Regions from separate parts of the Homo sapiens genome. Here all the other regions are linked to region 1. Evidence: promoter capture Hi-C in 16 types of primary human blood cells and fetal thymus (Javierre and others, 2016). All regions are on one chromosome and are shown on one strand. Each heading gives the region's core, a stretch centred on a gene start or on the middle of the fragment in contact. The rest is flanking DNA. Distances are from core to core; before and after follow the strand shown.

Region 1 (2,700 bases), core at 84-2,583:
TGTGTAGTTTCTGATAGAGGACGCCTCCAAACCGGAACAGGGAGGATTTCCGAAACAGGACTTTGAATAGAGTTGACAATCAGGTTCACATCCTCAGAAAAAGCCTTCCAAGCTATGTCAGCAACACAAAGTTGCACCACCTCCTGGGTAAACTTCAAAGACACAGAGGCCAGCGGGTGGAAGGAAGTGTGATATTTAGAGAACTTAGTGGGGCGGGGGAGAGTCTGAACTCATCTAGACAAACTAAAAAAAATAGCAGAAATATAGTCTGTGTGAAGCTACAGTACCCAGTTTCTTTCTAAAACTGTAACCATGACGCCCATGCGTTTTAGCCGTAGAAGAACAAATAAGGAAGTATCCTTAGTGGTACTGGAGTTTCTAATTCAAATTATAACACATTAATCTATCCAACGTCAAATAGAAAAAAAAAAAGTAGAGAAACAGAGTATACCTATTTCCTGCTTTCTAAGCTTTAACTTCAGCCCTTCGAGAAACCATCTATCTCCAGTATCTCCTTAGGTGATAGGACATTGAAAACAGGCAACCGTTTGGTGAATAAAGACATTTCTCTTGAGTTCTGCCCACAGATTAAAAGGACAAGGACACACGTTCTTTGTTGACACTTCTGCAGTGACTTCTCCTTTGGCGAGAGAGCACCCAGGGCCAACACAACTGTCACCACAACCACACAGAGCAAGTTGAACTCATACTGGGAACAGCTTAGAGAAGCACGCACATCTCAACAACAGCCTTTGTTATTTAATTCATGACACTAACCACGCGCAAGCTCAAACAAACACACATGCTATCCTAACCATCACTCTACCCTCTATATTCACATTTCATTTATGGCTTGACTTTTTGTCATATCCTGAAATGAAGCTTTGCATTTACCCGATGAGTTGCGTCTCCTGGTGCTCCTCAGTTCTTGCTATTTCTTTTGTCTTATAAAAGATCAGGAGCAGACTTATTGTGCAGATCGTCCACCTCTTCCTAATGGAGCGCATCTTGGGTGCCCGAGAAAGTCCTGGTTGCCCCAGCTCCCGCACCTTCTCTTGATATAAAGGCTCCGTTTTGGGGAGATAGTCGCGGGGGTGAAATCTGTAAAATGCGAGGAGAGCTTGGAGCCGGGATCCCGGGATCAGATCACTGGGGTCTTCTGTGGCCGAGCTCCCTCTGGTCCTCGAACGCTGCCCAGCGACCTCTCGCCCTGTTTGCGCCAGCTCTGCCAGGGTCGCTCCGCGCCGCCTCCCTGGGGCTCAGGTTTCTTTTCAGATGAGACACCTTGTGCATTGGAGGTGGCGGCAGCTTCTGCAGCTGGGTTCGGGGGCGTCACTGGCCCTTCCCTCTTGCTAGGAGATAAACGCTGCGCAAAGCCAATCACCAGGCTGAGGGGGCGGAGGCTGCTTGGAGAGTAACGTCCCCGGCTCTGCCTGCTCTGTGCCGGGAGAGGAAGCTCACAGTGCTACGCGCCTGCGAGCTCGCGCACATACACATATACATACATACACACATACATACATATGCACACACACGTACACGCAGAATCACACACACTCTCCTGGGACATCAAAGCATCAGCTCTCTGGACCTGGGAGCTCCAAGATAGTCTATCCGCATCTAGGTGAGAGGGCACCTCGCCTGGGGACAGATTACAAAAGCGTCCCGCCAGAGGAATGCTTCAGGTAGAGCTAGGGGTGGATTGCAAGAAGAGTACCTTCTTTCAATCGCTTTTGCTAAACACACACCCTCACACGCAAAAACACGCCCTCCAAGGTGGAGTGAAACGGGGTGCGGGGGTGGGGACGGCGGTGGAAGGAAGAAGACTTTTATTACTCAATCTGGAAAGTGCAAATACACACATGAACCTGTTAGCCGATGGGCCCACTCTGCATGGGTGGTGGACGACGACCCTGGCTCAGGATTCTGCAGGAAACAAGTGATGATAGAGGTGTCATTAGGAACTTTATGGATATTTATGCGCCTCCCTTTCATTGCCATTTGGAAACTCCTCACGCAGAAGTCAAGGAAACTCCAATCCCACTTAAACTTCATTGCGGAGAAACAGAGTTCTGAAAAAAAAGCAGCTACCATGGACCTCTCTTTTAAACGCAAGTACACCCACACACATTCGGATACCAAGGAAGGAAGGAAAGAAAGAAAGGAAAGAAAAGGGAGGGGAGGAAGGAAGAGCAAAGTCCTCTCTAAAAGTCTCAATTATATATATAGCCTCTGATTGTCACCTCTCCTCCGTCCCACCATTTTTCGTACTTGTATTGGGTGGCAGGGACACTTTTCAAGAGTTCTGTGTTCGATTGTTCACTCTGAGTACCTCTCCACCATCCTCCAGTCGTTGCCCTCATTGGGAGAGATGCTTGCTACTCTGCTAGTACCACGCCTTGGTTCCGGTCTTTACTGTTGGCTGGTAGGTCGGGAGGCACCTCTAGCATGAGACAGTGTCTGGAAGCCAGGATTTCCCTCATCTATATGCGCCGGTCCCCAGCTCCCTGGTCGCCAGGGTTTCTCTCCAGTTGAATTCCGTGTTCCTTCAGGTTGAACAGTAGCTTCAGCGGTTTTTCACGCTCAGAAATGATGAGGCCCAATTCCAATCTTCCCTCCCGCCGGAAGTAAGAAGGGGAATTCTGAGTTGCTTGTCGCCTGACAGCTTAAAATAGCAACGAAAACAGCCAGCATCTTTGC
Region 2 (2,990 bases), core at 195-2,694, 290 kb before region 1:
GTGTCTTTATGGCAGAACAATTTATATTCCTTTGGATTTATACCGATTACTGGGATTGCTGGGTCGAATTGTAGTTCTGTTTTTAGCTCTTTAAGGAATTGCCACACTGCTTTCTATAACGGTTGAACTAATTTACAGTCACAAAAATAACGTATAAGCATTCCTTTTTATCAACAACCAGTATCTGTTATTCTTTGACTTTTTGATAATAGCTATTCTGACTGGTGGTGATGATATCTCATTGTGGTTTCTATTCGCAGTTTTCTAATGACTAGTGATGTTTATCTTCTTTTCATATGCTTGTTGGCTTCATGTATGTCTTCTTTTGAAAAGTGTCTGTTCACGTACTTTGCCCACTTTTTAACGGCCTTGCATGATTTTTGCTTGTTAACTTGTTTAAGCTCCTTACAGATTCTGGTTATTAAGCCTCTGTCAGATGAAGAGTTTGTAAATATTTTCTCCCACTCTGTAGGTTGTCTGTTTACTCTGTTAATAGTTTCTTTTCCTGTGCAGAAGCTCTTAAGTTTAATTAGGTTCCATTTGTCAAGTTCAGCTTGTGCTACAATTGCTTTTGATATCTTTATCATGAAATCTTTGTCAGATCCTATGTCAAGAATGAAATTTCCTAGTTTATCTTAAAGAGTTTTCATAGTTTTGGGTTTAACATTTAAGTCTTCCATTAATCTTGGTTGATTTTTTTATGTAGTATAAGAAAGAGGTCCAGTTTCAATCTTCTGCATATGGCTAGGTAGTTATCCCAGGACCATCTATTGAATAAGATGTTCCTTCCCCATTGCTTGTTTTTCAGCTTTGTTGAAGATCAGATGGTCATAGGTATACAGCCTTATTTTTAGCCTCTCTATTCTGTTCCATTGTGCATGTTTTTGTACGAGTACCATGCTATTTTGTTTACCGTAGCTCTTTAGTACAGTTTGAAGTCTGGTGATGTGATGCCTCCAGCTTCGTTCTTTTTGTTTAGGATTGCCTTGGCTATTCAGTCTCCTTTTTGGTTTCATATAATTTTAAATATTTTTTTTCTAGTTTTGTGAAGAATGTCATTGGTAGTTTAATAGGAATAGCATTGAATCTGTAAATTTGGGCAGCATGGCAATTTAACAGTATTAATTCTTCCTATTCATGAGCATGGAATGTTTTTCCATTTGTTTGTGTCCTCTGATTTGTTGAGCAGTGTTTTGTAATTCTCATTGTATCGGTTTTCACCTCCCTGGTTATCTCTATTCTTAGGTATTTTATTCTTTTTGTGGCAATTTTAAATGAGATTGTATTCCTGACTCGGCTGTCGGTTTGGCTGTAATTGGTATACAGGAACGCTAGTGATTTTTGTACAATGATTTTGTATCCTGAAACTTTGCTGATGTTGTTTATCAGCTCTAAGAGCTGTGGGGCTGAGACTTTACGGTTTTCTAGGTATAGGATGATGTTGTCTGCAAACAGACATACGTTGGCTTCTTCTCTTCCTATTTAGAATGACTTTTTTTCTTTCTCTTGCCTGATTCCTCTGGCCAGGACTTGCAATACTATGGTGAATAGGAATAGTGAGAGATGGCATCCATGTCTTGGGCTGGTTTTCAAAGGGAATGCTTATAGCTTTTGCACATGAAGTATGATGTTTGCTGTGAGTTTTTCATAGATGACTCTTATTATTTCCAGGTATGCTCCTTCAATACCTAGTTTATTGAAATGTTTTAAACATAAAAATATGTTGAATTTTATTGAAAGTCTTTCTTGCATCTATCAAAATAATCATGTGGTTTTTGTTTTCAGTTCTACTTATATGATGAATCACGTTTATTGATTTGTGTGTGTTGAACCAACCTTGCTTTTAGAGATAAAGCCTACTGATTCTGCTGGATTAGCTTTTTGATGTGCTGGTCAATTCTGTTTGCTAGTATTTTTGTTGAGGATTTCTGCAACTATATTCATCAAAAATATTGACCTGAAGTTTTCTTTTGTGTGTGTGTGTGTGTGTGTGTGTGTGTGTGTGTGTGTTTGTCTGTCTATCTGTCAGGCTTTGGTATTAGGATGATGCTGGTCTCATAGAATGAGTTGGAGAAGAGTCCCTCCTCCTCAAATTTTTGGAATAGTTTTAGTGGGAATGGTATCAGCTTTTCTTTGTAAATTTTGTAGAATTTGGGTGTGAATCCATCTGGTCCTGAGATTTTTTGGTTGGTAAGCTATTTATTACTGATTCAATTTCGGAGTTTGTTATTGGTTTGTTCAGAAATTCAACTTTTCCTGTTTAAGTCTAGGTAAGGTGTTCAAGAATTTATCAATTTCTTCTAGATTTTCTAATTTGTGTCCAGAGAAATGTTTCTCTGGCGTTAGTGATATCATCCCCTTTGCTGTTTCTAATTGTGCAACCTAGAATTTTCTATTAAGCTCATCTTTTATTCAAAAGTAGAAATAAAATAAATACATGTATAGGCAAAACATGATTAAGAGTTTCATAGATGTGAGTAGTTTAAGGGAAAAATTATTAAAGGATACATTTCAATAAGAAATAAAATGAATCCAGAAGAACAGAGTGGAAAGCAGGAAGAAATGATTAAAAAATTAATTGATAAACCATGTTGTTTAATACAAATAAGTTTAGAAGAAGAAGGAAGAATAAACAGTTGGGAGAGAAGGCAAAATATATTTCTGTACTGGCTTTGAAATTTTTCAGAAAACTTTGAAAGTAAATAAGTCTGTTTTGTATTTAAGGCTGATCAATAAGGTTAAAAATAGAATGTATAACTTAATTATGAGTAATGGGGAAAAGGAGGAGCTTATGAATTCAACAAAAGGTAAAAAGAAAACAATGTATCAAAGGCAGCATGGAATACAAACAAAATTGCAAAAGGATGAAATACACATTAATATTAATATTCACAATAAGGAAGATAATAAACTTGTCTTTTATAAGAAACTCTGAAATTGAAATTGTAAAAATATAACTCTATTAAAAATTCACCCATTGTAAAACAATA
Region 3 (3,011 bases), core at 245-2,744, 350 kb before region 1:
CTGAGCCTTAGGTCCTAAAAGGGAAGACAAAGAAATCCATGTCAAGACAAAGAGGAGATATGACAAGGAAACTATGTGTTACATACTTTCATATGGAATACTTCAAAGCCAAACTATATAACGTTGATTTAGGATTTACTTTACCTGGGGGTGTCTGCCAACATGCCTTCAACAGGAGACAAACATAATCACAGGAAGTGATTGTATGTACTGAATTACAAGGAGTTGGGAGAGAAAAGGTATCTATCAAGGAAAACAAGGTTGCAGTGTCCTGAACATACATGAACACGCTTTTGATTTTTTTTTTTTTTTTGACCTTTGGGTGTTAGCAGTAAACACTTCATTAGAATTCAGCAGTAGCAGTATACCTCGTTGAAGGAACTTTCTAGTTAAGGATGCACGTGGTCGAGATTGTGGTAGGGGCAGAGCTGGATAACTGTCAAGCTAATAGAGAGGGTTTTTTTAAAAATATGAAAAAATGCTAAAGGAATTCAAAACTACAATAATCTGCGAACTTCAACATGGAGTCATATACATTTTAATAGCTCCTGAGAGTTTATATCAAAGTCACTAATTATAATGATCCTGAGAGGTTAAAAAGAGACTTTTAAAATATCTCATTTTCTTCTGTATAGGATGGCAGGAATATCTTTAGCATTGAATACAGTTCTATATAGAATGCTGAGAAGTTAAAAGTAGTACAAAAAGCCAGTTTGGCTTTTGAAAGGATAAACTTCAGTTATTCATAGTGTATATGAGGAAAACTGTGTTTTTAGAATATGGTAAATTTGCATACCAAAAGGACAAAAATAAAACTCAGCATAGGATACAAACTAAATATTAGGGATTCTAGTTGGGTTAGAGTATGACAGTTGCCTGGATCATGCCTAAAACATCCTAAATGAAATCTTAGAGCTCCTGATGTGAGTACATGTTTAATATATTTAAATATTCCAGTACTTTATTTTTTTGTCCTGAGTCAGAAAGCTGTTGCCTCCAGAGGTCCATATTACGATTTTAAATTTGGCTAGCTCCCTTAGATTTTGTTGTGGTATGTATCTGGAAATGATGTTCTTTCAGGCTTGTTTTATTCCAAGGGTGATAATTTATATATAAAAATTTAGATATCTTTCTTATACAGAGAAAATGGAAGATATATTGCCAATCTATATATTTTACTCAATTAATTTGTTTAGCAATATTTATCAGGCATCAACTTTATGACAGAAGTTGTGTGCTGTGGCTACTGTGGTGAGTAAGAACAGATACAGCTCCTGCTCTCATGGAATCAAATGTCTGGTAGGGATGACAAATAGTTACTTAAATAAGTATACAAGTGAACTTTTCATAAGCACTTTAAAGGACATGTATATAGTTTCAGTGGAAGCCAATAGTAGAGGTTTGTGACCTAGTTAGGTAGAACAGAAAAGGGTTTCCTGAGGAAGTTATATTTAAGCTGACAGCTGAAAGATGAGCAGGCATTCACACAGCAGTATTGTGGTAGGTGAGAGAAGACTGTGAGGCCAATGGCAGAGAAAGCATGGCCATCATGAGGAACTGAGAGAAGGCTGTGCGGCTGGAGTTCAGAACCTGGAGTGGAATGTGGAGCAAAGAACAAGATGAGGCTAAAAATGAAAGATGAGCCATCCTGTGCTCATCTTTGTAGGCCATATATTATAGACTGATTACTTAATGTTGAGTAATAGGAAACCATTGAAGGTTTTAGAGAATGAAGGGAAGGTTAATGGATAGCCGGAGTAGGCAGAGATAGTGAATTAGGAAGCTATTTTAGTCAGCAGAGGAAGAGATGATAGGATAGCAGTGGTATGGTAAGCAATATAAATGAATTTAAATTATTTTTAGGAAGTACAATCAATAATACCTTGTGATTGTGGCAGCCATGGAGATACACTAATCAGACCTCCATTCAAGAGAACATGCTACGGGAAGCAAAGTGGCTTGACATCTTCCTGCTGTCACAGATTTGGGTCCATCACAGCATTCATGCCAGGACAATAACCCCTAAACTTGTCCCTAGCCGATGACTGAGTGGAGCAGAGCCTGGCCATCCTGACTAACAGGGAACTCCGCTAATGGGCAGCCTTTGCTTACAGGCATGCCACTGGCCTGGTGAAGACTCTTCCAGAACTGCACTGCAAGCTACAGCTCTTTCTAGCTGGTCATCCTTCCTTTCCACTCTTTCACAGGTGTCAGATCTCTATTACCCTTTGTAAGATCTCCTTAATTTCCCTTTCCTCTCTCTCTTTATCCTTCACAGGCCCTTCCCTAACAATTCTCTTGTATTCTATATTAATTTGTTAGAGCTGTTGCAAAAAAGTACAAGTGGGCTGGCTTAAACAACAGAAATTTATTGTCTCACAGTTCTGGAGGCTAGAAATCCAAAATCAAGATACTGGCAGGGCTGGTTCCTTCTGAGGTCTGTGAGGGAAGGATCTGTTCTGGGCCTCTCTTGATCTTTTTAATGATGTTTTCATGTTCACATGGCGTTCTGCCTGTGTGCGTGTCTGTCTCCAAAATTTCCCTGTTTATAAGGACATCAGTCACATTGGATGAGGGCCTACCTTAATGATCTCATTTTAACTTGATTACCTCTATAAAGACCTTATTTCTAAATAAGGCCACATTTTGCAGTACCGGGGATTAGGACTTCAACATATGAATTTTTGGAAGACGCAGTTCAACCTGTAACATGCAGACATATCCCTTATTAGTATCTGATTCTTGAAGAAGTGGAAGTGACAACTGATGGATTGGGTTGTGGAAATGGGGAATAAAGATGAGAATGATGTCAGATTGGTCAAAAGAATTTTTACTATGTGTCATATATTCAATTGGGTTGGACTTCCTGATGAAAAGTATAGACAACTACAATTGTGGTTCACTAATTTTTATTCATTTATGTTTCAGCAGTAAAGAAATTTTCACATTTATTCTTGGTCACTAGTTTACTTTTTTCTAAGAATAGTCAAGAAAAAAATTTTATTTTAGTT
Region 4 (2,908 bases), core at 145-2,644, 330 kb before region 1:
CATCCTTTGAAGACAAACAACTTCATTATTTTCTGGTTTATCTTCCCTATAGTTTTTTTGGTAAAAGTTGACAGAAACATGTATTTCTTATGTTTACCTCATTTCTTACATAAGATGTAATATGCTATATATGCTGTATTATACTTTTTTGTTGTATTTGATATTTTCTATAAGTCATGCCATATATGTATGTATTATAATCACAATAGAGTAATATGTAGCTATAAGTCATGCCATTTACTATGTCATATGTATATGAACATATATGACATAGAGTTACATATTACTCTATAGAGGCTATTATTATATATATATATTTACAGCTGCATATTATTCAATAGTGGCTATAGCATAATAACCATGGTTTATTCAATCACCTATGGTTTGACATTTAGGTAGTTTTTAGTTGTTTTGTAATTATAAATAGTACTGCAAGGAATAACTCTGTGCAAATGTGTTTTTGTATTGTTGGAGGTGGATTTTCAGGGTAAATTTCTGGGAGCAGAATTATGGGTCAGATAATGTGAAATCAGTTTTAATGATGAGAAATTGAAGGTGCCTATAAGATGATATCCTACTGGGCAGAGCAAATTGGATAGATTCATTCTTTCATTAAAAGCACTGATTAACTACCATGTGCCCCAGGCACTCTACTAAGCTCTGGGGATGTATACAATAGTGCACAAAAATGGACAAAATGCTCAGCCTCAGGCATTTAACAATCATATATACACATACATATATATGGAGATATATATATATATATCTCCACAGTGCAGAATGAAGGAGTCTTAGATATGGAGTTGGGATTCACAATTTTTGGGTTTTGACTAAATCGGGAATAATGCTCTTCTCTAAGCCAGATTTACTTTTCTCTTTTAAAATGAGCAATAAGGATGGATATTTCAGGGCATAAAGAAGCAAAGAATAGTCATACAGTTTTTCTATTCTCCTTTTATTCTCTTCTTGAAACAATATCAAACATCATTTAAATTACACTCACACTAATTCTAGACATCTGTGCTATTTTTTTCAGAGTCTAAAACACAGAGGTCGGGTGACTGTAATTTGGGGAAGGTGGCCACATTTCTACCACATAACAGCATTTTTAAAGAGGTGTGAGAAGAGGTGTGTTTATTCCTATTACCTTCTGTGGCTTAGACATTTTTTTCGGTAATGAGATATACATTCCAAATACCATTACTTTATTTGAAGAAGGACCCTATCTGACTTTTTAATTCAATGGGCAGAACTCGATCTGATTTTTTAATGTTGATATTAGAGATTAAACATGCATTACACTATCAATTCATTAAACATTTTAAACTTTTCTTGTGTGAAAGCTGCACACTGATCTTATTGTGGCTCACTTCAGTAAAAAATGATACTCATGTTTAATACCATTTTCCCCCAAGTAAATTGGAAGAAAAAGTCTATACTTATGTGGAGATATAAGATCTCTTTAGTCATTGAAATAGGAACTTGACCAAGGATTTCCCAGAACAGCTATATAATGCCTACATCTTAATCTCTTAGATCCTTTAAATCTGTTCAGTTACATGACAAAGATGGCCAAAGATTGCAGAGGGAATTAAGATTGCTAATAGGTGGATTTTAAAATAGTTGGATATCCCGGATTATATGCATATAATATATCAAATTATTTTTATTGCTGTAGCATTGTAGGAAGTAAATATCAGATAAGGCTTGCCCCAATATTAAGTAGGTTAGCTGTCAGTTTTTTTGATATTGCTTGTTAGCATAAGTAAATTTCTTACTATTTCTAGATTGCTAAGAGTTTTTATCATGAATAGTGTTGAATTTTATCATATACTTTTTCTGCATGTACTGAAAGTGATTGTTTTTTTCCTTTCTGTAAATAAACATGGTGAATTTCATTAATTGATTCTTGAATGTTAAACCAACATAATAGTCCTGAGACAAATCCTTCTTTGTCATGGTACCCTTCTATATATCGTTGGGTTCAATTCACTAATGTTTTCTTAAAGTATTTTTGTCTGTAGTTTATAGAGTTTATATGTACATATACATATATATGTGTGTGTATATATATATGTGTGTGTGTGTGTCTTTTATATTATCTTTATCATGTTTTGATATTAGGGTTTGCGTTTCTCATAAAATGTGTTGGGAAGTGATCCCTTTGCATCTATGTATTTAAAAAATCTGTGTAACACTGCCATTATTTCTTCCTTAAGTATTTGATAGAACAAATGAGTGAAACTGTTAAGTGAAGGGACTTTTTTATTGGATGGGAAGAGTTATTTAATATACATAGAGCTATTCAGATTTTCTGTTACTTCTCATGTAATTGTAAATTGCTTTATCAAGAAATTTGTCCATAATACACTGGACTTTAGAAATCAATTAAGTGGTGAATTATGTGCGTAATTTTCACATAACTGCTTTTCCTTGTGATTATTTAAATACTTAAATGTATAAATATATATTCCAATAAATATATAAATATATAGAAATATTTATTTAAATTTATATTTCTATATTCCAGTATATAAATATATATGTACTTCAATATATAAAGTATATACCTAAGTGTGTGTGTGTATATATATATATATATATACACACACACACCCTATTACTTTACTGTTACTTTATTATAAAGTAATAGAAAGGTTGAGAAATGTGGCATCTTTTACTGTTGTTATTGTGATCAGTAAATCTACTTTCCATTGCCAAGGTTGCTACAAATACCCTGCAATGGATACAGTAGGTTTTACAACCATTTTTACAGCAAAGTCTCTGATGGCTATAGTTACATGTGTTATATGTTACTGTACTGATTATATTAGCCACATATTTTGTAAACCAAGGCAAATTCAAGTCTGCCATCAAAGAATATCAGGAAACATATAACTGTTGCAGT

Evidence for each region. The method cuts DNA at HindIII sites, captures the fragments that hold promoters and counts their contacts. A CHiCAGO score of 5 or more calls a contact.
Region 2: a contact is called between a fragment that was not itself captured here and the fragment with the promoter of ST8SIA4 in region 1, in 2 of 17 cell types (activated CD4 T cells and neutrophils). The highest score is 6.3, in activated CD4 T cells.
Region 3: a fragment that was not itself captured here is called in contact with the fragment with the promoter of ST8SIA4 in region 1 in 2 of 17 cell types (neutrophils and naive CD4 T cells); the score reaches 6.1 in neutrophils.
Region 4: a fragment that was not itself captured here is called in contact with the fragment with the promoter of ST8SIA4 in region 1 in 1 of 17 cell types (neutrophils); the score reaches 5.8 in neutrophils.

What each region holds. Positions count from the first base shown.
Region 1 is chr5:100,901,949-100,904,648 of GRCh38, forward strand. It overlaps ST8SIA4 (ST8 alpha-N-acetyl-neuraminide alpha-2,8-sialyltransferase 4), which reads right to left and starts at 1,334. Exons shown (of 5, transcript NM_005668.6): 1 at 895-1,334. The coding sequence starts at 1,007. LOC107986437 (a long non-coding RNA gene) reads left to right here and starts at 1,460. Exons shown (of 2, transcript XR_001742825.3): 1 at 1,460-2,700. RefSeq lists enhancers at 422-991, 1,477-1,716, 2,497-2,700. The HindIII fragment of the contact is 2,860 bases long and covers 881-2,700 here.
Region 2 is chr5:100,609,557-100,612,546 of GRCh38, forward strand. No RefSeq gene overlaps it. Among named protein-coding and RNA genes, the nearest start is that of FAM174A, 76 kb to the left of the region's middle. The HindIII fragment of the contact is 4,982 bases long and covers 1-2,990 here.
Region 3 is chr5:100,549,311-100,552,321 of GRCh38, forward strand. All of the region lies in intron 1 of FAM174A (family with sequence similarity 174 member A), which reads left to right. Among named protein-coding and RNA genes, the nearest start is that of FAM174A, 15 kb to the left of the region's middle. The HindIII fragment of the contact is 3,737 bases long and covers 1-3,011 here.
Region 4 is chr5:100,569,088-100,571,995 of GRCh38, forward strand. The region is part of intron 2 of FAM174A (family with sequence similarity 174 member A); the gene reads left to right. Among named protein-coding and RNA genes, the nearest start is that of FAM174A, 35 kb to the left of the region's middle. The HindIII fragment of the contact is 8,247 bases long and covers 1-2,908 here.